Linked DNA regions of Homo sapiens: region 2 is linked to region 1. Evidence: promoter capture Hi-C in human tissues and cell types (Jung and others, 2019). All regions are on one chromosome and are shown on one strand. The core of a region is centred on a gene start or on the middle of the fragment in contact, and the rest is flanking DNA. Distances in the headings are between cores, read along the strand shown.

Evidence for each region. The method cuts DNA at HindIII sites, captures the fragments that hold promoters and counts their contacts. A contact is called where the count stands out against the background at its distance.
Region 2: a contact is called between a fragment that was not itself captured here and the fragment with the promoter of KRTAP27-1 in region 1, in 3 of the 25 tissues and cell types used here (heart right ventricle, ovary and small bowel).

Annotation. Positions count from the first base shown.
Region 1 is chr21:30,334,879-30,338,943 of GRCh38, reverse strand. It overlaps KRTAP27-1 (keratin associated protein 27-1), which reads left to right and starts at 1,250. Exons shown (of 1, transcript NM_001077711.1): 1 at 1,250-1,931. The coding sequence starts at 1,276. The coding sequence ends at 1,899. The HindIII fragment of the contact is 14,979 bases long and covers 1-4,065 here.
Region 2 is chr21:30,219,218-30,223,282 of GRCh38, reverse strand. No RefSeq gene overlaps it. Among named protein-coding and RNA genes, the nearest start is that of CLDN8, 5.2 kb to the right of the region's middle. The HindIII fragment of the contact is 8,230 bases long and covers 1-4,065 here.

The DNA of each region.
Region 1 (4,065 bases), core at 1-2,500:
GATCTTTAAACATACAAGTGTGGTTATTCAAAATTATAAATGACTTGCGTGTGTTACAAAGGTATTGTATACAAGATGAGTGTGCAGCCTATAAAGCTGAAAGTATTCAGATGTGCCCTTTTAAATTTATAATATCCTCAGTCTTTCAAGGAAGTGTTTGCATAAGAATTACTGAGAATTGCTGAATGTTCTTGGGCTTCTTCAGACCTTAGAAAGGGAGTCTAGTTAGTGCACTAAGACTATACTTCTATTTTATTGTCATTAGCTGAGCCAAATATATTATAGAATATGTTATAGAAATTGTGCTGGTTGGCTCTGTGCCATGAGTATGAAACTATGCTAAGAACGGTGTCCTAATGCGATAAACATAGGAACTGATCATCTGTCTGCAGTCAATAAAAAAAGCACAGAATAAAGATGAAAAATATCTGAAGAAGGTTCATTATAAAGGAAAATAATCAACCTTTGAGAAGCACAAACACAAGTAAACACACCACTTTGTCAAGTATAGAAAAAAGGAATTAAATCCATTAGTAATTCAGAAAAGGAAGAAATAACTCCTAAATGGGAAGATTGGGGAAGACTTCAGGAAAAGGACGCATTTAAACTTGGCTTTCAAGGAGATTAGGGAAACGAAATGTTAGGCAAAAGACAAGTATTTATTGGGCAATGGCCACACTCAGTACTTTGCATGAACACTGAGAAGGAATGTGATCACAAAGTCCTCTCACATTCTGGTCCACTGGAGAGAACAATATCTGAGTGGAATGAGATTGGGCTCAACCTGGATCCAATTCTAACTTTAAATGTCTTGAACATCAAATTACCACATTCTGCTACATTGGCAGCTCTCAAAACCAGTGCTAAATGTTAATCAGTATTCAGTTGGCCACTGCCTCATGCATTTCTCATTGTCCACTTACCAATGTGCAGAGTCATGGTGGCAAAAAAAAAAAAAAATGTTAGCTTGGTTGGACAGGTTTAGACTCTTATTTGACCAACCCCACCTTGAATGAGTCATCTTTGGAGCTAACATAAAAGCCATTTTGAAGATTCAAAATGGACTTACATCTTTGTTAATAAGACATCATCTGCATATATAACCAAAGTGGTAATGAGATGTTATCCTTCAAATTAGTTTAAGCAATGAGTTGCAAAGAAGTCTTGAGAAGCCAACACCCAGGTTTCTGAGTATATAATCGCCGCACCAAAGAATTTAATTTTCAAACTCAGCATGTTGAGTCCTTATGACCATCTTTAAGGATTTTTAGCAATATGCCTCATAGCCACTGCCATTCACTCAGGAGCTTCCACAATGCCCCACCACTCTCTGCCATCACACATGGCACTAATCCTATAACCTTTGAAGACAGATTGTGTTTGCCCAGCAGCTTCCATAGCAGAACCTGTTTCCTGGACAACTTTCAAGAAACCTGCAATGAAACCACCAGCTGCCAAATGACCAATTGTGAACAGGACTTATTCACAGACGATAGCTGTGTGCAAAGTAACTGCTTCCCCGGAGTTGTCCAAACTACTTACTCCAATTCCAGGCCCTGCGAAAGGACAGCGTGCCAATCAGAAAGTTCTTCAGCAGGGCTGGCTTGTGTTTCTCAGCCTTGCCAATCAGAAAGCACTCAGCAGATGGGTTTTGTAGCCCAGAGCTGCCAACCTGCAAGCCTCAAGGGAAACAGTTGCCCACCCAAGACTTCTAAGTCTAAAAATTTCGAAACTCTGGAACGTGCATCTAGCCAATGTCAGTGTCAGTCTCAGAACCCTGAATCCAGTTCCTGTAGACCTCTGGTCAATGTTGCACCTGAGCCACAACTCCTGGAATCTTCTCCAGGAGTTGAACCAACTTGCTGTGTTACTGGTGGTTCTCAATTGCCTAGTAAGTGAAGATCTGTAGGGGAGATGGCTTATATTCTCATTTGGATGAATTTATTTTTGAGATACTTAGATATTTTGTATTTCTTTAAATAAAAAATGTTGTGTGTGTTTGTTAGTAAATGAACATGTCTTATTTTACTACTGTCTCCAAAGACAAGATTTTTTTTCTTGTTTTTCTTTTGGGTATGTCTAGTGGTAATCTGGGGTTGGAAAGCATGCTAGCTATTTTAGAGCAGTAGGATACGATTTGTTATTAAGCAATAAGAGCTGTAGCCAGGAAATAACATGAATACTTAAAGGAAACATCACACTTTAACTGCAAGTTGTTTTCTTTGGAAATACTTAGCATTGGATCTGGTTTATTAAGTAATGTGCTACTAGTCTCAGAAATTCATAAAATATTGGAACCAAACCTAAAAGCCTACCTAGTCCTGTGAATTACGATAGGTTCAACTCTATCAGAGGTTGCCCAAGTAGTTAATAACATCAGAACCACAACTAAAATCCAGGCCTACTCACTGGCCATCTGTTATTTTAGCCATTGAATCACAACATTCTCAAATTAACTAGAAGATTAAGTCTATTGTTCGAATAGAGCAAGGTAATTTTGAATTTCACCTCCATGGGCTTTATAACCACGTAGCAACCAGAAGCCTTTAAATAGAATGAATTGAAGTTTAGAATCTTCACTTCATTTCGTTCCCGTTGTTTTTTTGGTTGTTTGTTTTTTTCCTGTTTTCATTATTTCTTAAGTATTTTTTGAGTTTGGAAAATATTCTTTGTATTAAATAAATTTGCTTTCTTTGGAAGCAAAATTTGGACTTGTCACACTATTATTTTTATTCAATCCTTTTGCAGGTGTTATGTTACAGGCTTTTTGTTTCTTCGTTTGTTACCTAATGAAAATAGTATAAATATTTAGAAGAAAAGAGAACATATCCTCTTGTTATAATTTTTATAGTGTGAACCAGAAAAGAATAACTCATGGTGGTAGTCAACAGAAGATGGAAAATATACTCATATGAACATCATAAGACCATAGAGTCAGATGTTTGAAATTGATTAATTTTATTTAGGTAGCTTAGCTATTCTGAAACTTTTGGTGTGTTCTTAAATTGATCTTTCAATTTTTTTTTTTTTTTTTGAGATGGAGTCTCGCTATGTCACCCAGGCTGGAGTGCAGTGGCGCAATCTCGGCTCACTGCAAGCTCTGCTTCCTGGGTTCACGCCATTCTCCTGCCTCAGACTCCCGAGTAGCTGGGACTACAGGTGCCTGCCACCATGCCCGGCTAATTTTTTGTATTTGTAGTAGAAACGGGTTTCACCACATTAGCCAGGATGGTCTCAATCTCCTGACCTCGTGATCCGCCTGCCTCGGCCTCCCAAAGTGCTGGGATTACAGGCGTGAGCCACCATGCCTGGCCTTGGATCTCACATTTTTTCAGGGCAAAATAAGGTAGTGGTTGAGAGCATGAACTCTGAATATGGATTTCCTTGAGCTGGAATCTTAGCTTTGCTTAGTGATGGCTGTTTAAGTTCCAACTGTGTGACTGTGTGCAAGTTATTTAACCACCTCAGTTTCTTCAACTTCAAAAGTGAAGGATAATAATAGGGCTACTGTGAGCCTTAATAAGTTAATAAATTGAAAGTGTAAGGCTTAAAAAATTACCATGTATATAGCATATTTAGCAACTCAGCTAGCTCAGAGACTTGGTATGGGGGAGGTAGTGGGGATTTGTAAATAAACCCAGAAATCCATGAGAGATTAGGAAAGCTAGTCATCCAACAAAAGAGAGATTAGCTGTTTTGTATTTTGGAAGATGCAGGCAGCATCATCTACTAAGGGAGAAAATTAAGAAACTTAAACGCTGTCTAGTTGAAGTAAATTGGCAAGTATCTCTGAATCTATGGCAAACCTAATGCTACTGATAATTTACCAGTTAGTTCTGAGGGTGGGTGCCATGGTAATTCTATGTATCAACATGATTGAGCCAAGGGCTGCCCAGATTAAGCATTATTTCTGAGTGTGTCTGTGAGAGTGTTCAAGGGAGATAAGCATTTAAATCAGTGTGCTCAGTAGATGGCCCTCTCCAATGTGGATGGGAATCGTTCAGTCCATTGAGGGCCTAAATAAAACAAATGGTCGGGGAAGGAGAAATGTGCCCGTTTATGTTT
Region 2 (4,065 bases), core at 424-2,923, 120 kb after region 1:
TGAACGGTTGGAAAATAAGTGTTCAGAAGATGTTTTATGAGACATCGTCTTGAAAATTTTACAGAAAGTACAAAATCTCTATAAATATTTGAGATGAGGAGTTGAATAACTTTTAGTTTTACTCATATTCTCATTGAAAAAATTTTAGTGCATCCAGCATATTATTATAGATTGTAATATTTTCTCTTAAAAAAATAACTGAAACCCAAGAATGCCATGAGCTGCTTGTTCCAATAATATTCTCACCCAGTGCCATGTAAAGTTGGTTTTAAGTAAGGCACTTAATGTCTAGCCCTATTAAAATTTGCAAACACTGGTTGCCTAAGGCAGACAGAATCTTAATTTGAATTTTAAGTGGAAAGTTAATTGTTTTGCAAATTAATCAGTAATGTGGCTTAGCTCTATTTGCCCAGTTAATTACTTTTCCCTGTCCTGTTCCCTGTCCTGTTAACTTCAACTTTACAAGGGAAATTGTTTCTTGTGCTCCTATATTCATTGTTTGCTTATAAGGACATTTTGTGTGTGTGTGTATGTGTGTGTGTGTGCACCCTTGTATGTGTTTTCCATTTGTGTGGACTTTTCCCTTATATCTTATGATTTCCCTCATATCTTATGATTTCTCATATTAAACAATGCATGTTGCTGCAGAAAATGGAAACACTTCATTTCTCCTTATAATGCTCAAAATCCTATTGAAAATTCACAATGTGAAGGACATTGTTTCAGAGAACTCCTTCTGATCTACCAAAACTTATATGCTTTATAAGAGATAAAACTACACATTGACACAAGCTTTCAATTAGGTTTACAGGTAGGTCTATAATGACTTGTAGCACATAGTGGGTCAAGAGTGTAGCCTCAGGTGTTTGACAGAATAGAGTTCCCATATTGGCTTTTTTTACCAGTTTGTTGTGAGGATTTGGGTCAGTTATTTAAACTTTGTAAATTCCAGTTTCCTAGTAAAACTGACATAATAAAGGGCTTTTCTAATAAGGGCGTTGGGAGGCTGAAATCATATGGTTAACTAATATGATATCACTTAATCTTAATTGTTCATATAACTTAGTAATTATTAAGTAGTTCTTATGACTAGGATTAAGTAATATTTATTAAAATATATTATTTTAAGCATAGTCATATTAAATATATTATCTATTATCCTATGTGCCTTTTCTCTTCTCTTCCTTTTTATAATTAACATGACTTAAACTTGTGAATTGCTGTGGATTCAAAATAAAATTATGAAAAGTGCTCTGTTTTGGTCCTGTTCATTATCTGATGTTATCATTTTTAGTACTAATTACAGTCTCTGCCTGGCCAGAAACTTTTGTCATGGACCGTTTGTTCTCCTCATTCAATGCTTCATATGCTTTACATTTCAGTAGAAAGGATTATTATGGGAGATTAAGGGATTTTTTTAAAAAATTTGTTTTTCAAGCAATTCCAAAAATAACCATGTGGAAAACAGTTTTATACAACTTAAAAATGTTTTTTTTTTTTTAATTTTAGCGTTTGGAAAAGGTAAAAAGAAAAGTTGTTAGTGAGTCACCTGAAAAAGCAATTTTAATGGACTAATGAAGGTAACCATAGAATCATTCCTCTGTTGGTCACTAAGAAGTCCCTATAAAATACAAAGGAAAGTTTCTCTGTATTATAATTAGCTGAGGGCACAGACACATGTAACTGTTCACTTTCATTGCATTGAAATAGTTTAATGCTTACTTTAGCCAAATACTTGTTCAGTGGTGGTTAGGTCATTCAGTATCACGACCTAGTCTGTAATTAAGGAATCACGAAGATGGGGACAAGCATGGGAAGTGAAGGAAAAAGGGGTGCCACTGGTACCTTCAGCACAGGGAACTCTCTCAAATTCTAAACAAGGAATAATTTTATTGAAATTGCCAATATTTCCCCAGTAGAAACTCCTTTGAATAGAGTATCTAAAGAGGTAGATTTCAAATTTCAGTGAAGCAGGTATGTTTTAAAAATTGCGAAGGTTGGCCATGCAAAATTTTTACAACAATGTGCTAAGCAAGGACGAAAAATGTTTTGAACATATTTTATATCTTAATTAACTCTGACCATATATGCCAATGTAAGAAATTCTGTTTCCCTAGTTCTCTTTAAGGAGATGGTAGGCAATACAGAAAAGAATGTGGGCTTTAGGTCTGCTTCTGAATTCCATTTCTGTAGATTCAACCAGCAAAGTCTGTGTGGCCTTAAAAAAGGCAGTCTCTCTTGAGTTTTAATTTATTCAATTATAAAAGGAGAGTAATGACCCCTGCTTTCTAAAAATGTTTTAAGTATAAAGTAGAGTGATAAAAAGAATGTATTGTATAGAGAACATTTAATACTCAGTAGCTGCTATTACCAGCAAATTCTTTCTTTTTTAAAATTTTTCCTGAAATCATTAGAATTAGGGTATTTCACATCATCAATTCTCCATATATAAATTACTCATTAATTTATAGGAAAATTTCCACAGTATACAGTTTTGCTTTTTTCAGTTATCTCCCTGGATTTCCAGTACTTTAGTAGAGACATCAAATATATCACATGAAATACACAGACCTGTCTTTCAAAATATATCAGAATTCATCCTATACTTAGGTTTTAATTTTTTTAATGCAATGAAAAGCGAAAGAAAGGTAAAAACATGTCCATGACACTATTTCTATTATTGATTTTTTAATTCATGTTCACCATTCTTTTTTCATCTTGGAAAAATGAAATATTGATATGGGTGATATAATATGGGTGAAGTTCTTAAGCACCAGTAGACCCTTCAGAATTATGCAAATTTTATTGCTTGAATTTGTTAGTAGCTAGATGTTACAGACCGGATATTTGTGTACCCACTAAATTCATATGTTGAAATGTTAACCCCCAATGTGATGGGATTTGGAAGTGAGGTCTTTGAGAGTGAAACTTTGAGAGTTGTAGAGGAGGTCATGAAAGTGAAATCTTCATGACGGTATTAGTGTCTTTATAAGAAGAGAATGAGACTGGAGCTCACACTTTCTCCCTGCTATGTGAAGTCATCTCATAAAGACAGCTTTCTATAAACTGAGAAGTGGGTCCTCACCGGAACCCAGTGACACTGGCACCCTGATCTGGGACTTCAGAAGAATGAGAAATAAATTTCCATTGTTCAAGCCACTTGGTCTGTGGTATTTTGTTAAAGCAGCTTGAATTGGCTAAGATACTAGGCAATTTCTATGCAGTAAGGAGTTCATTTTTAAGCAGAGCAACTGAAAATAGATCACACAGAGGTGGTGAAAAGAGCGGTTGGGCATGGTGACTCACACCTGTAATCCCAACACTTTGGGAGGCTGAGGTGGGCAGATCACTTTAGGTCAGGGGTTCGAGACCAGCCTGGCCAACATGGTGAAACCACGCCTCTACTAAAAATACAAAAATTAACCAGCTGTGGTGGTGTGCACCTGTAATCCCAGCTACTCGGGAGGCTGAGGCAGGACAGTCGCCTGAACCTGGAAGGCAGAGGTTTCAGTGAGCTGAGATCAAGCCACTGGACTCTAGCCTGGATGACAGAGTGAGACTCCATCTCAAAAAAAAAAAAAAAAAGAAAAAGAAAAAAGAGAGACATGGTAAAAAGAGAGGGCTGCTAATGGATAGAGAACTGGAAGCATAGCTGGCCATCATGAAAAACAAACAAGATGATGGTTCAAGAGAACATACAGCAATGCACAACAGTATTTTCGGAACAACACAGAGACCTATTGATATGTTCACTTATTCTCTCAGGACAAGATGGTTGGCCAAGTATGGTTAATTAACAGTGGAACATAGTTAAAAATAAACACCCTTGAAAAACTGTCATCACAACAGAAAACTACAAAGCAAATCCAGAAAACAAAAGAAATTGACCTTTGCTTGATAGGCAGAAGCAAAAATTATTTCAAACAGTGATAAGAATTAATAGAAATCCAAGACTGTGGAGTTGAATTAGGTTAAGGATTAATGGGCATAAGACAATCTGATAGTGATTTGTATGTTATCATTTAGGAAGAAAAAGCATTTGCCTGTGTTATGCTATTATCAGGG